Linked DNA regions of Homo sapiens: all the other regions are linked to region 5. The links are contacts of gene promoters, found by promoter capture Hi-C in blood cells and fetal thymus (Javierre and others, 2016). All regions are on one chromosome and are shown on one strand. Each heading gives the region's core, a stretch centred on a gene start or on the middle of the fragment in contact. The rest is flanking DNA. Distances are from core to core; before and after follow the strand shown. Region 1 overlaps ACAD11 (acyl-CoA dehydrogenase family member 11). Region 2 overlaps DNAJC13 (DnaJ heat shock protein family (Hsp40) member C13). Region 3 has its middle 24 kb from the start of DNAJC13. Region 4 overlaps ACP3 (acid phosphatase 3). Region 5 holds the start of ASTE1 (asteroid structure-specific endonuclease 1). Region 6 holds the start of ACAD11 (acyl-CoA dehydrogenase family member 11). Region 7 overlaps ACP3 (acid phosphatase 3).

What was found. Contacts are between HindIII fragments. The CHiCAGO score rates a contact against its expected background, and 5 or more counts as called.
Region 1: a fragment that was not itself captured here is called in contact with the fragment with the promoter of ASTE1 in region 5 in 1 of 17 cell types (total B cells); the score reaches 6.3 in total B cells.
Region 2: a contact is called between a fragment that was not itself captured here and the fragment with the promoter of ASTE1 in region 5, in 1 of 17 cell types (total B cells). The highest score is 7.0, in total B cells.
Region 3: a fragment that was not itself captured here is called in contact with the fragment with the promoter of ASTE1 in region 5 in 2 of 17 cell types (total B cells and naive B cells); the score reaches 6.9 in total B cells.
Region 4: a contact is called between a fragment that was not itself captured here and the fragment with the promoter of ASTE1 in region 5, in 3 of 17 cell types (total B cells, naive B cells and total CD4 T cells). The highest score is 14.6, in total B cells.
Region 6: the fragment with the promoter of ACAD11 here is called in contact with the fragment with the promoter of ASTE1 in region 5 in 1 of 17 cell types (naive CD8 T cells); the score reaches 5.4 in naive CD8 T cells.
Region 7: a fragment that was not itself captured here is called in contact with the fragment with the promoter of ASTE1 in region 5 in 2 of 17 cell types (naive B cells and total B cells); the score reaches 6.6 in naive B cells.

What each region holds. Positions count from the first base shown.
Region 1 is chr3:132,639,389-132,642,220 of GRCh38, reverse strand. ACAD11 (acyl-CoA dehydrogenase family member 11) reads left to right here. Exons shown (of 20, transcript NM_032169.5): 4 at 88-249; 5 at 2,565-2,729. It overlaps NPHP3-ACAD11 (NPHP3-ACAD11 readthrough (NMD candidate)), which reads left to right. Exons shown (of 45, transcript NR_037804.1): 29 at 88-249; 30 at 2,565-2,729. Among named protein-coding and RNA genes, the nearest start is that of ACAD11, 19 kb to the left of the region's middle. RefSeq lists a silencer at 771-961. The HindIII fragment of the contact is 621 bases long and covers 1,236-1,856 here.
Region 2 is chr3:132,422,659-132,425,358 of GRCh38, reverse strand. All of the region lies in intron 1 of DNAJC13 (DnaJ heat shock protein family (Hsp40) member C13), which reads right to left. Among named protein-coding and RNA genes, the nearest start is that of DNAJC13, 6.5 kb to the right of the region's middle. The HindIII fragment of the contact is 200 bases long and covers 1,180-1,379 here.
Region 3 is chr3:132,392,379-132,395,095 of GRCh38, reverse strand. No RefSeq gene overlaps it. Among named protein-coding and RNA genes, the nearest start is that of DNAJC13, 24 kb to the left of the region's middle. The HindIII fragment of the contact is 9,134 bases long and covers 1-2,717 here.
Region 4 is chr3:132,336,963-132,339,879 of GRCh38, reverse strand. ACP3 (acid phosphatase 3) reads right to left here. Exons shown (of 10, transcript NM_001099.5): 5 at 2,326-2,424. Among named protein-coding and RNA genes, the nearest start is that of ACP3, 21 kb to the right of the region's middle. The HindIII fragment of the contact is 1,555 bases long and covers 693-2,247 here.
Region 5 is chr3:131,025,431-131,028,130 of GRCh38, reverse strand. It overlaps ASTE1 (asteroid structure-specific endonuclease 1), which reads left to right and starts at 1,306. Exons shown (of 6, transcript NM_014065.4): 1 at 1,306-1,624; 2 at 2,537-2,657. It overlaps NEK11 (NIMA related kinase 11), which reads right to left and starts at 1,254. Exons shown (of 18, transcript NM_024800.5): 1 at 1,125-1,254; 2 at 129-201. RefSeq lists enhancers at 945-1,134, 1,215-1,274, 1,415-1,654. The HindIII fragment of the contact is 10,416 bases long and covers 1-1,369 here.
Region 6 is chr3:132,658,471-132,661,170 of GRCh38, reverse strand. ACAD11 (acyl-CoA dehydrogenase family member 11) reads left to right here and starts at 1,362. Exons shown (of 20, transcript NM_032169.5): 1 at 1,362-1,568. The coding sequence starts at 1,420. It overlaps UBA5 (ubiquitin like modifier activating enzyme 5), which reads right to left and starts at 842. Exons shown (of 12, transcript NM_024818.6): 1 at 473-842. The coding sequence starts at 633. The region is part of intron 26 of NPHP3-ACAD11 (NPHP3-ACAD11 readthrough (NMD candidate)); the gene reads left to right. RefSeq lists enhancers at 247-526, 897-986, 522-1,060. The HindIII fragment of the contact is 2,892 bases long and covers 1-2,700 here.
Region 7 is chr3:132,358,370-132,361,221 of GRCh38, reverse strand. It overlaps ACP3 (acid phosphatase 3), which reads right to left. Exons shown (of 10, transcript NM_001099.5): 10 at 2,381-2,852. Among named protein-coding and RNA genes, the nearest start is that of ACP3, 42 kb to the right of the region's middle. The HindIII fragment of the contact is 5,322 bases long and covers 1-2,852 here.

The DNA of each region.
Region 1 (2,832 bases), core at 297-2,796, 1.6 Mb before region 5:
ATGTTTCACAAATGAATGTTTTTCTAGTATATTCGACAAAGTATTGATTATACACATTTAAATAATCTGTTGTAATCACTTCCATAGGGTCGAATCTTCCGTGATTTAACAATTCCTGGACTTAGCCCAGCAGAACGTTCAGCCATATATGTGGCCACGGTAGAAACATTGGCTCAGTTACATTCCTTGAATATACAGTCACTGCAGCTGGAAGGATATGGTATAGGTGCTGGGTACTGCAAAAGACAGGTAATGCATCCACATTAATAGCTATTTTTTTCAAGTTCTTGTAAATAATATACCTTATTAGTCAACAAAAAAAGCTATTATTGTATAGTTTTCTGAAGCTTGGCCATGACTTTTAACATTGTCCTTCAGAATGACTAGTTTTTAGTATAAAATTATCTTATGTTTTTATATTAGGTTTTGTTCAGCAAAATCTTCTGTTTTAGACTCTTAATTTTCCAATACTTTTAACTATACAGTTTTTTCTTCTTCTTCTTCTTCTTCTTCTTCTTCTTCCTCTTCCTCTTCCTCTTCCTCTTCCTCTTCTTCCTCCTCTTCTTCCTCCTCTTCTTCCTCTTCTTCCTCCTCTTCTTCCTCCTCTTCTTCCTCCTCTTCTTCTTCTTCTTCTTCTTCTTCTTCTTCTTCTTCTTCTTCATCATCATCATCATTTTGAGACAGAGTCTCCCTCTGTTGCCCAGGCTGGAGTGCAGTGGTGCAATCTCTGCTCACTGCAAGCTCCACCTCCCAGGTTCACGCCATTCTCCTACCTCAGCCTCCCGAGCAGCTGGGACTACAGGCTCCCGCCATCACGCCCTGCTAATTTTTTTGTATTTTTAGTAGACATGGGGTTTCACCGTGTTAGCCAGGATGGTCTCAATCTCCTGACCTCGTGATCCGCCCGCCTCAGCCTCCCAAAGTGCTGGAATTACAGGCGTGAGCCACCATGCCCGGCTTACAGTTTTTTCTTTCTCAATTGGACTAGCAGACATTTATTAAGCTTGACTGTGTGTTTAATACCTGCTGAGTACTGTGTTAAATATCAAGAAAAATATACAATAGGTTCTTCCCCACAGGAACTTATGGTCATTTTTGAGAGACCTGTACATGCATGTCATTCACGAAACCTGAAAATGGTATAAAAGAGTGTAAAATCTAGTGGTAAATTGTTTGATACTCACCATGATTCAAAGGGTGGAAGTTGGGATGCCCTTGCTTATATAGAGAAAGCTTCCTGGGAGAGATATCTTATAATGAGTATTTAAGGAAAGATAAAATTTGGAGTGATGGAGATCATTTTAAATTAAAGGAAAGCAATACTAGATATATATGGGGCTGCTTTCCTTTGTAAGCATATCATTTTGTGGGGGTTAAGGAAGAGAAAAGGGAACTAAAGTTTAGAGTGTACTCACTATATGCTAGGTCCTACATGGCAGAGTGAGTTGTCGGCCTCTCTTTTTTGATCTTTACAACAACTCTAAGATATAGGTATTATTACTCCCATTTTGCAGATGAAGAAAGGGAGGCTTGCATCAATCAAGTAATACACAAGTAAGTGGCTTAGATATAATTTAAACCCAGGTTGATATGACTAGATAAGACCAAGTAAAGGTCTTTGCTCTATTGCACTAAGTTGAGCAAAGATACCTCGGGAAATGGAGATAAAAAAGCAAATAAACAATATGGTCCCACCTGTTGGAGGACTTTACGAGTAAGTTGATTTGTTTGCATTCAATTCTAAGAACAATAGAAGATCTTTACACTATTCATACCTGTAAAATATTTAGAAAATTCTGTGGGTAATAAGAAAGAGTATTAAAATGAAAAGTAGGCTGGGCGCGGTGGCTGAAGCTTGTAATCCCAGGACTTTGGAAGGCCAAGGCAGGCGGATCACGAAGTCAGGAGTTCGAGACCAGCTTGACCAATATGGTGAAACTCCGTCTCTACTAAAAATACAAAAATTAGCTGGGTGTGGTGGTATGCATCTGTAATCCCAGCTACTTAGGAGGCTGAGGCAGGAGAATCACTTGAACCTGGGAGGTGGAGGTAGCACTCCAGCCTGGGCAACAGAGCGAGACTCTGTCTCAAAAAAAAAAAAAGTAAATGTCTTCTTTTTTCTTCTAGTCCCCATATTCCCTTTTTCAGGGGTTACTTATTTCTCGTGACCCTTTCCAGAGATTATCTATGCCTATATATTTGTGTGTGTGTGTGTGTGTGTGAGAGAGAGTGTGTGTGTGCGTGTGTGTGTTTGTATGCATTCTTTTTTTTTCTTCTACAAAGTAGTTGCTGAATAAAGACTAGAACCCATATCTCTTGATCCCTAGGCCAGTATTTTTCTCTTGATAAAAAACTAGGTAAGTAAAATGGAACTATATGGAAAAGAGACTTAAATGTTTAAGGTTTAGGCTGATTTGAGTGTTTTAGGATGACAGGAGTATCACCAGCATGGGTCTTAAGTATTTAGGAGTAAAACAGCATTTGAATTTTGTTTTAATTTTAGAATTGCTAGATCCTACATTCCAGTTTCAGCTTTACCATTTTTCTTATTTATATGTCTTTAGGTATCAACCTGGACAAAGCAATATCAAGCTGCAGCTCATCAGGACATCCCTGCCATGCAACAGCTATCGGAGTGGCTAATGAAGAACTTGCCCGATAATGACAATGAAGAGAATTTGATTCATGGAGATTTCAGACTAGATAACATAGTTTTCCACCCTAAAGAGGTACAGTTAGCTATGTTTACAATTAATTGAGTAGGTCTGTTTTGTGACACAGTACTAAGTAAATGCTCCCCCCAGAGCACTGAGGGAGCCCAACCCACTCCCT
Region 2 (2,700 bases), core at 30-2,529, 1.4 Mb before region 5:
CCTTTTCTGATCAAACTCTCCTACAACAGAAACAATGCTACATTCCAAAACCACACTTAAAATGTAGCAGACATTCACATCATAGGAACTAATTTATGAACGTAATACTTCCTACAGCTATATCTTACCAAAAAGGGAGGGGTAGTAAGGAGAACCATGGAAAGACTAACCCTTTGAAAAAATAACTAATAAGAGTAATAGATAGAATATCTTATATTGGCTTCTTGAGGATCTAGGTTTGTTTGTAACTGGATTCAAAATCTGAGTAAATCATAGCACTAGATTAGTTTGGTTTCAAACAAATGGTAAAAAATATGAATGGCTAACAGAATGTTCATTTTTACCCAGATTAAATAGCTACAACTAAACTGTTTAGATAGAATGTGCTGTGTATGGGGGAAACTGCCATATGAACTTTAACCCTATTTTTAAATTTTAGCTTCATTTTAATATATGACTCAAGTACAGGTAAAAGCATTTTCTTCTAAATGAACAACAAATCAGTATGTGTAATATGTATGATACCAACAGGAATCTTAAAACAAACCATAAATACATCACAAAGATTTTAGTACCTACCATCTTAGCCTTCCTTAACTTACTGAAGAACCCGATACCTCCAGAGATAGATGTCGTTGAAGAATAAAAAAAGCCAGCGGTAATATCAAATTTCATCTGATAATCATATCTTCAAATAATTGCCCAGATATTTTAAAGTGAAGTGATTGTACTGTCACATCATAATCAACTTTTAACTAGTTTCACTACCATAGGGTAGCTGAAATAATATGAGATCTCCACCATTGTTTTTAAAAACTTGATTCCTTTCTATTACAAACTGAGTATATATTAATGAAATACAGGGCAAGAAAAATTCAAAAGCAACCCCTAAATCTGAAGAAACACTTAATGGGAGGAGGGGACAAGCATACTTACCATAGCAGTTACTTTTTTTGACCTCTTCTATTCAACAGTATAAATCAAGTATTGAAAAGAGACCTGTCTCTTCTATTTCTATCACATGTATGCTCATTTCATCTGAGGGGAATAATTTGTATTTCTGACAAAACAGAAGTTTATCTGTTGTTAAAAAAATTCAAATTTTCTGTGAAAGATGTATTACTATGACCCTTCCCTTTCCAAAGCTTAAAAATGCCTTAAAATACTCACCTGAAAGCTTTCTTTCCAGAAACATGTTCACTTAAGCAATGCTTTGAAATCATTGCTATTGATCATTTACATATTTTTAGTTTATACACATTATTGTAACTTTATAGACCTAATTTCTATTTCATTTTATCTTTGAAGCATAACCTGGCTTATGCAAGAACAAACTATACTATTTCTGTAAGGTCTTCAGCTTATCAACTTATTAAGCTTATCAGCTTATTAAGGCACTTAATAATCATGCTCTACTATGGTAAACAGGCCCTGAAATGGGCAAAAGAAATTTTTAGCAGCCATATTTTAACTTGTTGCTGTTTTTCCTATCATTACAGTAAATGCATAATGCGGGACTAAATTTCCTAAGCTTTTAACACATACAACTTGAAGACAGTTTTACAGAAAGCATCCTGAAAACCCAAACACTGTTCTTTTTATACTATTAAAAGACAAAAGTTTAATTTGCTACAATTTCCCCTTCACTCAATACAAAATAGCAAAAACATACATTTCTAGTTTAGTTCTGAAATATCCCTATTATTCCTACCTCTTCTGTGGCGCTTTACAGTTTATAGAACACTACCAAATTATCTTAAAAAAGCAAAGTTTCACTTTTAAAATTAAGCCCATTAGTGCTAAGATTTGGGGGGAAAATGGCTTATCTGCTCTAAGATTTGATAAACATTCAAAATACATTCTGTAGCTTGACTAGAAGTTTGAGGAGAGAAACCCCATAGCCTTAGATGACTAAGGAATACAATAAAAGTGAGAACACCATGTATAAGCGTTTAAATGTATTACAGAATACATGAAATATTAGAGAACATCTCCTCCATTCATAACCTCACCAACCCTTCCATTAAGTTGTGGCAACTAGAGCTGGCAAAAATCAAAGCGTCGAAATAATTTTTTTTAAGAGACAGGGTCTTCCTTTGTCACCCAGACTGAAACGCAGCAACACAATCATAGCTCACTGTAATCTCAGTCTCCTGGGTTCAAGCAATCCTCCTGCCTCAGCCTCCCGAGCACACGTCACCACAGCCAGCTAGTTATTTCATTTTTTGATGAGACGGGGTTGCTCAAGCTAGGTTGGAGCTCCTGGCCTCGAGTGATCCTCCCGCCTCAGCCTTCCAAGTGCTGGGATTACACGTGTGATTATTGTGCACCCAGCTAAAATAATTCTGGATTGCTTTAGGGGTTTTGTTTTCTATCTGATAATCAAAATATCAAACTCTTATTAATCCATTGCAAAGAGATATTACCACTGGGCATGTGCTAAATATGTGACTAGGCAGTGTTCTTCTAAGGGCAACTTGAGTGCTTAAACTGTAAAATTCCACTGACTTTAAAGCTCACTCTTTTTCACAAGTAGTCCATGAAAGTACAAGTAAAACTCCCATATGTCGACTATTGAATAAAGAGCATCTGAAAAGAATTACTAGCAAGCTATATGGTTTTATTGACTGAACCACACCTAAATGTACCTTTGCACAGGTAACTATCTTAAATTAGCAAAGATGATCATAACCATGTTGG
Region 3 (2,717 bases), core at 217-2,716, 1.4 Mb before region 5:
AATCATGTAAACTAATACTTAATAAACTCCCCTTTATATATATCCTGTTAGTTCTGTTCGTCTAAGAGAACCCTGACTAATACACCTCAGTTTTCTCATTTTGGGAGATTAGCTGAATTAATTCATGCTTATCTCTGAATGAGCACAATGTTAAGTACCCAATGTTAGCTGTTATTAGTAAGATGAGTAAATTAGGACTCCTATCCTTCCCTCTACTTCTTTCCCTACTCTTCTGTATGCACTGTTCTCCCATCCTAACAACTTTTGTTAGCTTTGGTCATCTCTTCTGTAATCATAATTAATCCTTGCATGCTTTATTCATTGGTTGAATCTAAAATCAAAAATATCAATGCACAGTATTTCTATTGTGATTGTGTTAACATTGTTTACTATCCTATGATTTCAAAGTGTCTTATTTTATTTTTTATTGTATGCCTTCATCAAACACTAAGATGATGTATCTGCCTTAAACATATTCCATCTTTGATAAGTGATGTAATATAATTGTTGAAGACGGATTTCCCAGAACCATCTGACTTCTTATTACAATCTGAACCAGCTGCTCTCTGGGCTGGATGCCAAGCTGTCATCCTGAGTTTTTTTCCACCCAAGTCCTGGGTTGGAGTCAGTGTTCTGGGATCTCAAGTTTTTACGTTTCTTGGACTTAATTCTTGTTCTGGCTGGAGAACATCTTCAAGTAATTTTCTTGAAAGGGTGCATGATAAATCAACTTGATGAATTTTTACATGCTGGAAAGTGACCTCAATTTTTCCCTCTCACTTTCTCACTTGATTGATATTTTTACTGAGTGTGGAATGTTAGGTCCATAATTATTTTTCTCAGAAAGTTGAAGTTATAGCATCTAGGTATTCTAATAAGAAATTACATTCTTTTTTCTTTGTAGGACATAGTGGTCCCCCTCTAGAATCTTTCACAATGCTCTCCATGCCCAAAGTGTTCTGAAATTTCTTGAAAATGTTCTGCGTTTGGGTCTTTTTTTAAAAAAAAAATTCATCTTGTGGTCATGGTTACACTCATGTATACAAGTGGTAAACATTATTCAAAAAAACTGCATGTTGAATTGAATTGTACCATCAGGAAGAAGAAATCCTATAATGCTTAAAGCCTGTGCCACAACATTCAACGTTAGATTGTACCATTATGTATGGTTTCTCTAATTGTTTTATGTGTATATATGTTTAATGTCTTGAACTTCATCCTAAGCAGGAAATACATTTTTTTCTCATCTCAGTCTGTCCCTGTCAGTCTTTCAGAAGACCAAAAGTGGTAATTTTGTGCATTAAGAATACCCTGGACTGAATGGTGCTCTCAAGAGGCCAGGAAGATTATCTGTGTAGGAAGGAGAAAGGAGATAAACTAAGTGACTTCAAGTAACTTGGAAAAATTTCTAGCCCACTGTACCCAGGATTTGTGTCCTTTCAGAAGGGGCCATTCATTATTTTCTTTTGGCTTGTGGGAGGGAGAATGCATGTTTTTCCATCCTGGGAAACTTGCTTCATAGTCTGACTTCATGGCCAGACCTGCTTGAAGTCAACCAGTTACTAAAGGGCATCCATGTACCTGTGTAATTTTGTAGATGTTGCATGTCAGCTTCATTGAGGTCATTGAAACTGGGCCCAGAGGAGACGCAATTTACTTTTATAATAAGGAAGTTAAGATGTAGCAAGAGACTAAAGAGAGTTGGAAAGATATCTGCCACCTACATTCAATATTTTTTTCTGTTTGACATTATTCTATTTTGTTATTAATAAGATAACAAATCTTTGTAAAACAAACCCTTTCCTTGTTTCTTTCTTTCTACAATATCTACTTTCAGATTAAATTGGTAATAACTTAATCTGGCTCTCCTGTAGAATCTGTCTTTACAATTTTAATGGTTTTTATTTTTTAAGCGCTCTATTACATTTGACCTTGTTTTGAAATCTGTTTCTTTTGTTTTGTTGGGGGAGAATGCTGAGAATGTTGTATTCCCTTAGAAAGAAATCCTCAATCATAGTAACAGTTTTAATAAGATCACATATCTGCCTGTTGTTCTACCAAATGAAATTTCCATCACTTTAACAATAGTTGTCATTTCAAGATGTGTGTAAGAAGATTGAAGAAAACCCCTGATATGATTTGACTCTGTGTCCCCATCCAAACAGCAGGTTCCCCTCATGCTGTTCTCATGATAGTGAGTGAGTTCTCACAAGATCTGATGGTTTTGTAAGGGGTTTCCCCCTTCACTCAGCTCTCGTTCTCTCTCCTACCACCCTATGAAGAGGTGCATTCTGCCATGGTTGTAAGTTTCCTGAGGCCTCCCCAGCCATGTGGGACTGTGAGTCAATTAAACCTCTTTTCTTTATAAATTAGCCAGTCTCAGATATTTCTTTATTTTTTTTTGCATTAGTTGAAACATAAAAACTAGTTTAATAGCTTATTTTAAAAGTAACATTGCAGTACATGATAATCATTATATGAAATAATTACATGTTTATAATATAATGATTTTCTTATGATCATTTTCTTATAATGACTGAATGCTAAAGACACAGTAACTGAAAAAACTTACCTATTATACTCCCTTTGACTTAGTATTTAGCATTGAATACAAAAGTTCCAATAGCTTCCATGTAATTAGGGAAAAAATTTACAAATGCATAAAATAGAAACCAAGGTGAATTCTCATGCTGGCAATCAAATAAAGGCTTTTTACT
Region 4 (2,917 bases), core at 221-2,720, 1.3 Mb before region 5:
GGGATTAGAGCGTTGGGACTTTCAGCCCTACTTCAGAACCTCTGGGGAGGGGAGGGAGTTAAAATTTAAGTTGATAGCCAATAGCCTGTGGCTTAATCAATCATGCCTATGCAATGAAATCTCCATAAAAAGCCCAAAGGGAGAGGGTTCAGAGAGCCTTCAGAGAGCTGAACACTTAGAGGTTCCTGGAATGTGGTGGTCCTGAAGAAGGCAGGCAAGCTCCTTGACCTTTTCCTTATATCTTTTGTAATATCCTTTGTAATAACCAATAACTGTGTTTCCCTGAGTTCTGTGAGCTGCCCCTGCAAACTGATCGAACCCAAAGAGGAAGTTGTGGGAACCCCAACTTAAAGCCAGCCTGTCAGAAGTTTGGAGGTCTGGACTTTCATCTGTGTCTGAGGTGGCGGGTTGGGGGTGGCCAGTTTTGGGGCCTGAGCCCTCAACCTGTAGGATCTGATGCTATCTCCAAATAGATGGTGTCAAAACTGAATTGGAGGCCACCCAGCTGGTGTCTACTGCAGAACGGGCTGCCTTTTCTTGCAGAGAGATCCCCCATATTTGGTCACAGAAGTCTTCTGTCTGTGTTGATTGGTGTTTTCAAGTGAGAAAAATAGGAAAAAACACATTGAGTGTGTTTTTTTTCACACACAAAATATCACAGACAGAAATGTTAAAATACATAGAAAAAAGCTTCTAAAAACTTATAGCAAAAGGAAAATCAATCATCCAAAAGAAAAATAGTCAAGGGATATTGATATAAAAGGAAATATAAATGGCATTTAACTGATGAGAATACACGGACACATAGAGGGGAAGAAGACACACTGGGGCCTCTTGGAAGGTGAAGGGTGGGAGGAGGCAAAGGGTCAGGAAAAATAACCAATGAGTACTAGGCTTTATACCTGGGTGATGAAATAATCTGTACAACAAACCCCCATGACACATGTTTACCTATATAACAAACCTGCATTTGTACCCCTGAACTTAAAATAAAAGTTAAAAAAGAAATACAATATCAAAAAACAAACCAAAAAATGGTATTTAACTAGATGAAGATACCCAAACTCACTCATCACAAGAAGAAAAGTACTATAGCACGATGTTGTACAGTAGTTATAATAGTGAGCTTCCTTGTCTTATTCCTAATTTTAGAGGAGATGGATGCTTCTAGTGATATTATTTTCCACTTACCAGATTGGCAAATATCCCCAGAGTGGTCCACATACTGTTGGCAAAGTTGTGGAGAAATGGGCATTTGCATGCAGTGCTGATAGAAGTAGAAAGTAGTAAAACCTCTTTGGAGGGTAAATTAATAATATTTCAGATTAACCCAGAATGTCTACTTCTAGGATATTATCCCACAGGTATTCTTGTGAAACTATTTAGATGCACAAGTTATTCATACATGCTGTTTGTAAAAATGAAAGATTGAAAAATGACCCATATTCCTATCAATAGGGGCTGGTTAAATAAATTATGGCATAAATATAAATATTACACATTTGTTAAAAAAAAGGAAAAGAAAGAAAAGGAGGAAACTCTTTACATACAGATATAGAAATATTTCCAATATATTTTCTTAAATGGAAAAAAAAAAACAAAACAAAACCAAGGTGCCCAACCCTATGAATAGTATACCATTTTCGTGTAACAAAAGAAGAAACTATCAGAATATATTTTTATGTTTGTATATGCATAAGGAAATTGGAAGACTGCATAAAATACTACATAAAATACATAAAAGACTGCATAAAATAAACACATAAAAGACTACTAGAAAATAATGCTAGTGGTTACCTGTGGGGTCATGGAGGCTTCCACTGTATTCCTTTTTATATTTTCTAATTTTTGGACAGTATGAATGTATAATATTCAAAAGATTATTTTAAAAAGTACACAGCATTATATCTACCTTTTGTATTGTGCTGAAAATGGGTACTTTGCAAAATAGAAACAAAAAAAAAAGACTATCCTTTGTATATGAAGACAATAATCCCAGCCCCTTAGCCTGAATAAGGCAGGTGATTTTAGACTTATATTTATTCTCATCCAGCCATTTACTCACACCTGGTTCCTCTCAAGGCCATGAGTAAAGGATTCAAAAGGACTGGCTTGTCTATTGGCTTGTGACCCCTGTATGGGGAAGGGAAGCAGGAGTGATGACCTCCCTCATTAAATATTCTAACCCATTGCTGTAACCAGCCACTGACAGATGCATTCGTCCCATCTTTTTAAGAAGCCAAAGCTTCATCTTGTGTCTTGGCCCTCACACTCAAGTACCACTAACAAACTAACAAGTACCACTAAACAAAACTAGCTTTTAACCTTATAAGGGTGCAGCCTCTTCTGGAATTCCTCTGATTTCAAAGTCTCACTCTCAAGTTCTTGAAAACGAGGGCAGTTCCTGAAAGGCAGGTATAGCAACTGAGGATAAGAGAAAAATCATAAAACTGTTATGAGTCAGAAAAACTTTGCTAAATATGCTGCAGCAATATTTTAAGCCTCATTAGGTTCAAAGCAACCTTAATAAAAGATTCAAATGTGTTTTGAGCTGAGTGGAAATTCCAAAATTGGGGAGAAAGAATCAAATGATCTATAGGTCTTAAAATAGTAGGATATGTATTCAGAATTGAAAATCCTTTTTTTTCATTCATAAACTTGCCATAATATAACTGAGCTGTTGGTGGTAAATATTTACACTTCTCGATCTTCCACGTGAATAACTGTTATCTTGCTTCCTTCCCAATCACTTTCATTTCTTGCAGTAGGTGCACACCTGTACACACACACACACACACACACACACACACACACACCCCAACGCATGTATGTATGGAGAAAGGAATTTGATTCTGGAAAAAATCTTAAGTCAATTAACCACTCATTAACTTCAGGTTTTGCAAATTTGCAGACTGTT
Region 5 (2,700 bases), core at 57-2,556:
AAATCTGCTGGAAAAACAACTACAGAGCAGGCCTCTAAATATACCTTTTGTTTTTACTTCCCCTTCACTGTCATAAAAGTGATGCCGTCTGGCCATACTAAGCTGTTCAAATAAATATATGGACTTACAGACTTTCCAGCTGAAAAGGGTCCTTCAGGTCACTCAGTAATTCTCCTTATTTTAAAGATGAGATTAAGGTTCCTTTTAGAGAAGGACAGAATTAGGGACGGACAGAATGAGAAGTTCACTTCTAGCGGCTCTTATTTTAAAGGACAGTCTAAACCCAGCAGTGCTTAAGTAGTCTGGTCCAGGCTGCAGAAGACTCTGGGACTAGGTTCCCTCCCGCCCACCCTCACAGACTCAGCCCTGCCACCCCCATCCCAGTCCACTTTTAGGTCATCCATTCCATTAGTCTCCTCTGCGCAACCATAAACCTACCCAAGAATGTGTCGCATTGTCTAGATTCTAGAACTATCTGTTCACTTGACAACACGCTCCCCCTCGAGGTTTGAGTGAACTTGGGCACTGCGAACACATCTTCTTTATTTCTGCATCCCCAATCCCTGGCATACCTCCTGGCATATACTAGGTGTTTAACAAACCTTGTTAAGGCAAGTAAGTGTCCAGCAGATCAACTGCCGCCCAAAGGAGAGAAAAAAGGTTAGTTAAGAAAGCTAGATGGGAACTTGGAGAAAGTTACTACCTTGTGCAAACTACCCGTTCTCGGTGAAACAGATCTGGCTGGGGGCAAAAGACAACGGAAGGAGTATTTATCACAAGTTGAAAACCAGTAGTTATCTTCCCAGGTAATAAGAGGAAGGCAATTTGTCACCAGTTTCTGCTACAGCACAAATCTACCTTTAAAGTAAATCTTAACCTTAAGGTAAAACGAACAATTCCTTGCTTCTTCACCTTTTTAAACATTTACATTTTGGCAAAGCAGGTTAACGTTTATTGAGGGGCACTGAGACTGGAGTACATCCGGAGGTAAGATGTCCAGGAAAGCGAGGAGATCGCAGCCATGGCGTCCTAGAGATTCGGAACCCAGCCCGGGCAGCTTGAAACCATTACCTTCCCCCTCGCAGGGGAGCCTGGCTAGCCCCAAGGAGGACAGTTCGCTTTACCTTTCCCTGTCGTGGTCGGAGCGGCGCCCGGGGCTGCCCAAGTCTTGCGGGTAATCGGGCAGGCCTCAAACTAGGGGCAACCACACCCACCGAGCGCCAGACACCGCGGGCCACGGCTGTTTGGAACCGTGGCCAGGGAGACGGCGCGGGGCATACTGGGAAGTCGGGGCGAGGCGGCACCAAGGCGGAAGTGTTCGCCGACCCAAGTAGGCGGAGAAAGCAGAGGAGGACCGGCGGGCCAAGCTTTCCTAGCCTGACAGCAGCCATTTCGGAACGTACGTCCCAGCCCTCTTTAGCTACTTAGCGCCTCTGGGCCCGAGAACACCTGCTCCTTGGCTCAGTCTGGCGCCACCGGCATCACGGAACTGTACTTCCCAGAGACGTCACACCGGGAGACTTCCGATTCCCGCTCTTGAGATTGGACTCTCACGTGCAGGAGCCAGTCCTCGCTGGGCTCTAGCGGGCTTCTGATGGAGGAGCTACTCCTCTGGGAGGACAGAGTAGGTGGGCTCTGCTGCAGGTCCGGGCGGCGGGTTGTGAGGGCCGAGGTGGCACGGTGTATGAAGGCCTGTGTTTGAAGACTTAGGTCAGACCTTTTGCCCGCCTTTCCCCTATGCAGCTCTATGCAACTGTCTGTGCAAGGTCCTGTAATTTGCGTAGGACGCCTTGACACAGTCTCTGCTTATGGACGCTTTACAAAACTATCTTGCAAAGAAATAAGTACTATACAGGATAAGGTTCTGAGATACTGACAGGGCTGGAACTAGGGTGAGATAAGTGTAAAATGTAAATGGATGCCAATAAAATTCAGTAATCAAGGTAAGTTTTAATGCAATCTCTAAAAATCAAAATTATAGCAAAAAAAATCCATGACTGACAAAATGTCACGATTTTAAGTAATAGTAACAGTACCGTGCTGTGCCATATTGAAGCCCGAGGTGTCAAAAGAAAAACCATCAATTCTGATCCTGCGAGTTAAGTTAGCCAGGTGAGGAAGCGTAGCTGGGCCAGATATGCAAAATAAGATGATGAAAAGAGCTCGTGGTTAGGGGTGTAACTGGATAGAGGGGTTCCTAGAGGCATGAAGCAGTTTTCCTTATACCAAAAACTATGCCAATTAAGAAGGGCCCACAAATCCAAAGCCTGAAAGAAGTTCCGTGACTGATTGTCAATACAAAAGAAAAACTTGATCCTTATCATAGGTCCTACACACCTTACTTTACTGAAGCCCAAATGCTTTGTGATTATGAGATGAATATGATATCTTTTTTTTAGCTTAGGACTTTTTACTTTGACCCCACAAAACAAATACTCTGTGCTGTAAGATGTTGACTATTACCACTTAAGAATCAAAGTTCACAGAACTTCTATACTGGTGTGTCAGTAATGGACTTCAACTGATTTTTCTTTAGAATTAGCAGCAGCCTCTGTCACCATCCAAAGATTACAACCCATGAAACCATTGAATTTGTGCCTTGTATCAGAAAGCAAAGGAGAATGAAAAAGCACAGCTAACATTGCTTGAGGATCTAGGTAAGAATTTATGATGTTGATATCTATGTTCTATCTAAAGAGC
Region 6 (2,700 bases), core at 113-2,612, 1.6 Mb before region 5:
GTCGAATGGTTTGAGATGTTAAGGAGCACCCGAATATCTCAGAATAGAGCTAACCCCGCTCTCCCCCGCCCCGACCCCATTTAAGATGCATTGATAAGCCTTTAATGAAACTCAAAGTTTACCTTAGCAGGTTTAATATTTGATCTCATCTTCTGAAAGTTCTTACTATCAGTCTTATACACAGCGAGGCGGACTAATTAAGAGGCAAGGGTGATAGGAAACTGGACACACGTCCTCAGCAGGCACAGGAGCAGCACCATATGGCTGACTCACTGGAGGTTTTTAAAAAAGAGAAAGAATATCTTCCGATCAGTACTAAGATGTGGCCTTGCCCATTTGGGAACAGGATTCGCAGACCAAGAAAAGGGTGGCGGGCGTCCCCATGAGCGGGACGTGGGAAGCGCCTCACTTCTGACCTCACGGAGCCTGACCTCGTCCCCCGCGCCTGCCTCCGACCGGCGACGCAGGTTACCTGTAGGGATTCGAATCCACCACCTCTGAGCTCATCTTCTCGATGCGGACCCGGCCGCCCCCTCCGTCGCCGCTCCTCGGGACCTGCAGACTCCTCTCCTGGGCAAGTTCCCGCTCCAGCTCCTGGACCCGCTGCTGCAGGCGCTCCACAGACTCCGCCATGGCTGGGACTCCGGCCGCCAACGCTCCCAGCCCGGGCCTTCGCCGCCGCCTTCGCCCCACGTTGCTCGGCTGGGCCCGCGAGGGGTACGTGGGGAGGCACCTCGCCGCTGCCTTCCTAGCCCAGAGCCCTGGGGACGTGCACCCAGCGCCTCACAGACAGACACGTCTCCGAGACTCCCACAGGCCTTCCTCGGAGCCGCTTCCGGTGCGTCGCAGACATCGCTCCCCCTCATCAAAAACCTGGCTCTTTCGGCTTCCTTCCTCGCTGGGCCGGCTAAACCCGGCCGCAGCAGCACCGGGGTGATAAGTGTCCAGGGCAGGAGGCCAGCGATGTTGCCTTGCTAACCGGGTATCTAAGAGAAACAGGGTCTTTTTATTCTTAGGCTCGACAGTCTGACGGCCCTTTTTCTGAACGGGACCCTGCAGGTCTTCCGCCTGCTGTTGCATTAAATTTGGGGGTGGAAGAGGCTTCTGCGTTGTTCCTTACCCGCAACGATGACCATGGCTTTGCCTTCTTTAAAATTGAGGCCTCCAACTCTGACGCTGACTGGAGAATTGAAACCCGAACACACATTGGGCTCTTTTGGCACTTGACTAGAGCTAAAACCTCGGGATTCAGCGGGCAAGCGTTGCTCAGCAACGGCGCGTAGGCTGTGTGCGGTTGGCTGGAGCCAGACCCCACCCCGGCCTCGGCCCATGCTCTAGAGGGGACGTTGCCCCAATCCTGAAGGACTTCGGCACTCGAGACCTGTGGATGCCGCGTTGCTGTGGCCTGCGGGGGTGATCATGAAGCCAGGTGCTACTGGCGAGTCCGATTTGGCCGAAGTGCTGCCCCAGCACAAGTTCGACAGCAAGTCCCTGGAGGCCTACCTAAACCAGCACTTGTCTGGCTTTGGGGCCGAACGTGAGGCTACGCTGACCATTGCCCAGTACAGGTATGGATGTCAGCCTTTGCCTCCAGCGGAAAAAAATTTGTACATTGAGTTTTCCTTCCTTTGGCCCTGGGTGGTTTCCTAAGTTTCTCCCACCCTGATTGCTTTTCCTGCAGTCAGTGGACGCACCCTACAGGCATGAGCTGCTATTGCCGGCCCTCCGAATTCGATGCTGGGGGCTTCCCAATTGGAGGGCGGTAATGGAAGCGCAATAACGTTCACCATTCTACTATCCAAAGGAATCTTTGTTAAAGGATGGATTTATGTCCCTTGAGGATTCACCAAGGCAATTAAGGCTACAAATTCTGAGAAATAGATGCCTTCTTTTGTGATACAGCCATTAGATCTTTTTCTGAGAAGCTGGTGTAATTCCGTTTGATTGGCCGTATTCCGGGAGGCTGAGTTAATGACACCAGATGGAGGATCCGAATTCGAGTACTAGCTTTTCCACTTAGGAGGTCACAGCACCACTTTGGGCCTCAGGTTTTTTGAAGTGAGGTAATGGAACTGAGTGAGAGGATCCTGAGAGTAGCGTTCCCCACCGGGAATCTGGCTTTAGTCTGATGTTTTACAATAGATAATACATTCTTAAAACTTTATTCTAAAAATAACATTGTTACTAATACAGGGCTACAGAAAGAGTCCTATCATTCAGAAAACTGGATCTGTCACTTGCTGTCTGGGAGTTTAAATATGTTACATAAACACTCTGAGAACTAGTTTCCTAAGTTGTAATACCTATTTTGATTAGTCTTATTAATGAAATGAAATACCGTAATATAGGTGAAAGGGCGTAAAAATTGCAACAACATAGTGTGCTAGTGGTATTTTATCACTAGCATTTATATTCTTTGACTACTGATTTTGGTGAAAATGAAAATAATAATAAATGAGATGGATCAGGGAACATTTTAGGGTGTAGAATTTAAAGGTCCCATGTCCCAATAGATATTGGAAGATGAAGGGAAAGGTGGAATAAAGAATAGCTGAGATTTCTAGGCTAGAAGCCTTGTGTTGTAACAAACTGAAACAGATCAAAGTTCAAATTTCAACTATTTCAATTGCTGTGGAATTTGGACAAGTTACCCTTTGAACATCTAGTCCTGCTTTGGCAAAAAGGAGATAGTAACGTTCA
Region 7 (2,852 bases), core at 169-2,668, 1.3 Mb before region 5:
GGATATCATTGAACAAGGGATATCACTGAACAAGGGATATCATTGAACAAGGGCTTTTAATAGCAATGGAGGAACATGAGAATGCCAAAACAACTATGCTGAAAACAGAAGTCAAATACTACAGACATGTTGGCACATAGAAATGTGTTTATGGCCAATGATTGGGTCTCTACAGTATAATCACTTTTGAGGCTCATTCATAGCTTCTCTCTCTTATTTATAAATAAACTGAGTTCCAGGCTTCTGACTTCTGAGCTCAGCCACAAGGAAGCCATGCTAGGTATGCAGGGCTGGACATGTATTCAGTTAGCAAATATTGATTGAAGGCACAAGGTTCTAGGCGTTGTCTACTGGCTGAACACTCAAAGAGGAAACATGTATGGATCCTGCCTTTAAGAAGCTCAAGGTTGAATCTTGGGCATGTGTATTTGTGCTGTAGATTCTCAGCTTTAGAAAGATAATGAGAGAAAACTGGGACTTCTCACTAGTAAGTCTCCTTCTTGTGAAATAATTAGAGTTGGACATTGAGATGGGGGTGGGAGAGCACTAGTGAAGAAAGTCTGAATGTGTTAGTAAAATGTTGGAATTAAAGAAGCAGTTTGACAAATTTTATTATTTTCAAGCAATGTGCTATGGCCTTAGACTTGTGAATTTTCCAGCAAAGACTCTGGTGAATTTAATTGATACGATCTGGAATCTGGTTAAGTGAGCCTACTGGCACTAGCTAAAAACACTGCTTATAGTTATGGATAGAATTTAATGGGTGGAAACCCCTACTCTAAGGAGTAGGGTTGCAAAGTATCTTGCATATATAGGACATATCCTATATTTAATGATTTTGTCCTGCTTCCTGTATCGGCTTTTTCAGAACATCCTAAGTGTCCTGTATTGTTTTTTTTTTTTTTTCCAATGAATTACAAAAACTTGGCAGTTACAGCCTTTTGTCAAATTTATCTCGGCATCCTGTACTTTTATTTGCTAGATTTGGTGGCCAAACTAATGAGCCACTCAACCCCTACAATCTTCCATGTTTCAGCCTTCTCTGTAGTATCTCTCTTCTAAGGTGAGTGGCCACCCAGCCTAATGGGCACTTCTTACCTCAGGAGTTTCCCAACACTGAACGAAAATCTGTCTCCCTGAAATTTTTACCTGCTGCCCCTAGCATCCCTCTTTAAGATCATACTGAATAAATCTAATCCTTTTCTTTACAGAAGTTCAAATATTGAACTCACTGTATTAGAGGCCACCTCATGTCACAGACTCTTAACAAACTTTCTATGAGCCCAAACCAGTGGTGTGGTGGTAGGATTTGTAGCATTTAATTTCTTTGGTGAAAATACTCCTGCCACATTGGAGCTGCCCAGGTGAAGTGGTTGAACTGAGAGTTGGGAACTGATGGACACATTCCACTCTTGAGATCTGTATGAGCGGGCTGCAGCACATCAACCCTTACATTTTTCTTTCTATTAACATTTTTTGCTGCTTAATCATATTTCACTCTACCTGCATATTGTTATTTGTGTTTTGAGGGAAAGAATTCTGCAAACATACCACAGGTAGATTTACAAGAGGAGGTGAGAGACTATGGAGAATGAAGGAGAGGGTAGGGTAAAAAATAACTCCTAAGTTACCAGGTATTGCTGCTCATCAAGATAGACAAGAGTAGGGTCAGGGGAAAAGGTAACAAATTTATTTATTTATTTATTTATTTATTTAGACAGAGTCTCGCTCTGTTGCCCAGGCTGGAGTGCAGTGGCGCGATCTCGGCTCACTGCAAGTTCCGCTTCCCGGGTTCACGCCATTCTCCTGCCTCAGCCTCCCGAGTAGCTGGGACTACAGGTGCCCGCCACCATGCCCGGCTTTTTGTATTTTTAGTAGAGATGGGGTTTCACCGTGTTAGCCAGGATGGTCTCAATCTCCTGACCTTGTGATCCGCCCACCTTGGCCTCCCAAAGTGCTGGGATTACAGGCCTGAGCCACCTCGCCTGGCCTCAAACTGATTTTACGTGGTACAGTTGCTACCTTCTGCAGAAAGCCTTTCCTGACCTTCCTTACTTCCCCTACTCCAAATCTGGATAACTCTTGTTCCCACAGTAATCTGTGTAGTCATAAGACATAGCCCTGGTTTTTCCATGTTGTACAGTATGTATCTCTTTACTTCCCTAGTATATTGTGCACTTCCTGAGGGTGTTTCCTTAGCAAATTCCATCTTAAATAGATGAGGCAGAGCCATCCACAGCTTCACCTTTATCTGAAGTGGTAAAGTCCAAACTATATTTTCAATGTAAAATGTTCATTTAAGCCAGTCAAATCATTTTACTTTATATTAATATTTTCCATCTTGTTATACTAAAACAAAAACCCCAAACACAAAGGGAGCTCCTGAAATCTGCCTAGAGGAATTTTATTCTAATTAAACACACACACATACGTTTTTCTAAGTTCATTATAAAAGCAATGCTTTTGAACTTCCTAATAATGACTTTATTCACTATTTTACATTTGGCTCACTGCTAGAAGACAGTTACAAGCATAGAAAATGGACCCAAGGACAAACATTTACTTGGGAGGGAAATAACACAAAGAAGCATATCAATCGATGTCTTTGTCAGTCATTCTGTGACCAACCAGGAGCGGGGATGGCTTTGCTCTAGATTCTGGCAGCCAGTAGAAACCATCTCTAGAAACCATCTCATCTTTATCCATAATGGTAATAGAGCACAGTGTTCTCTAGACATGTAGATCTGCCACATGGCAAAGCTATATCATGATTTCTTCTTGCAGAGTGGGCAGTTTCAGCAGGACCTGTAAGTTTGCTTAGGTTTTCTGAAGATATCGGCATTAAAGACTTA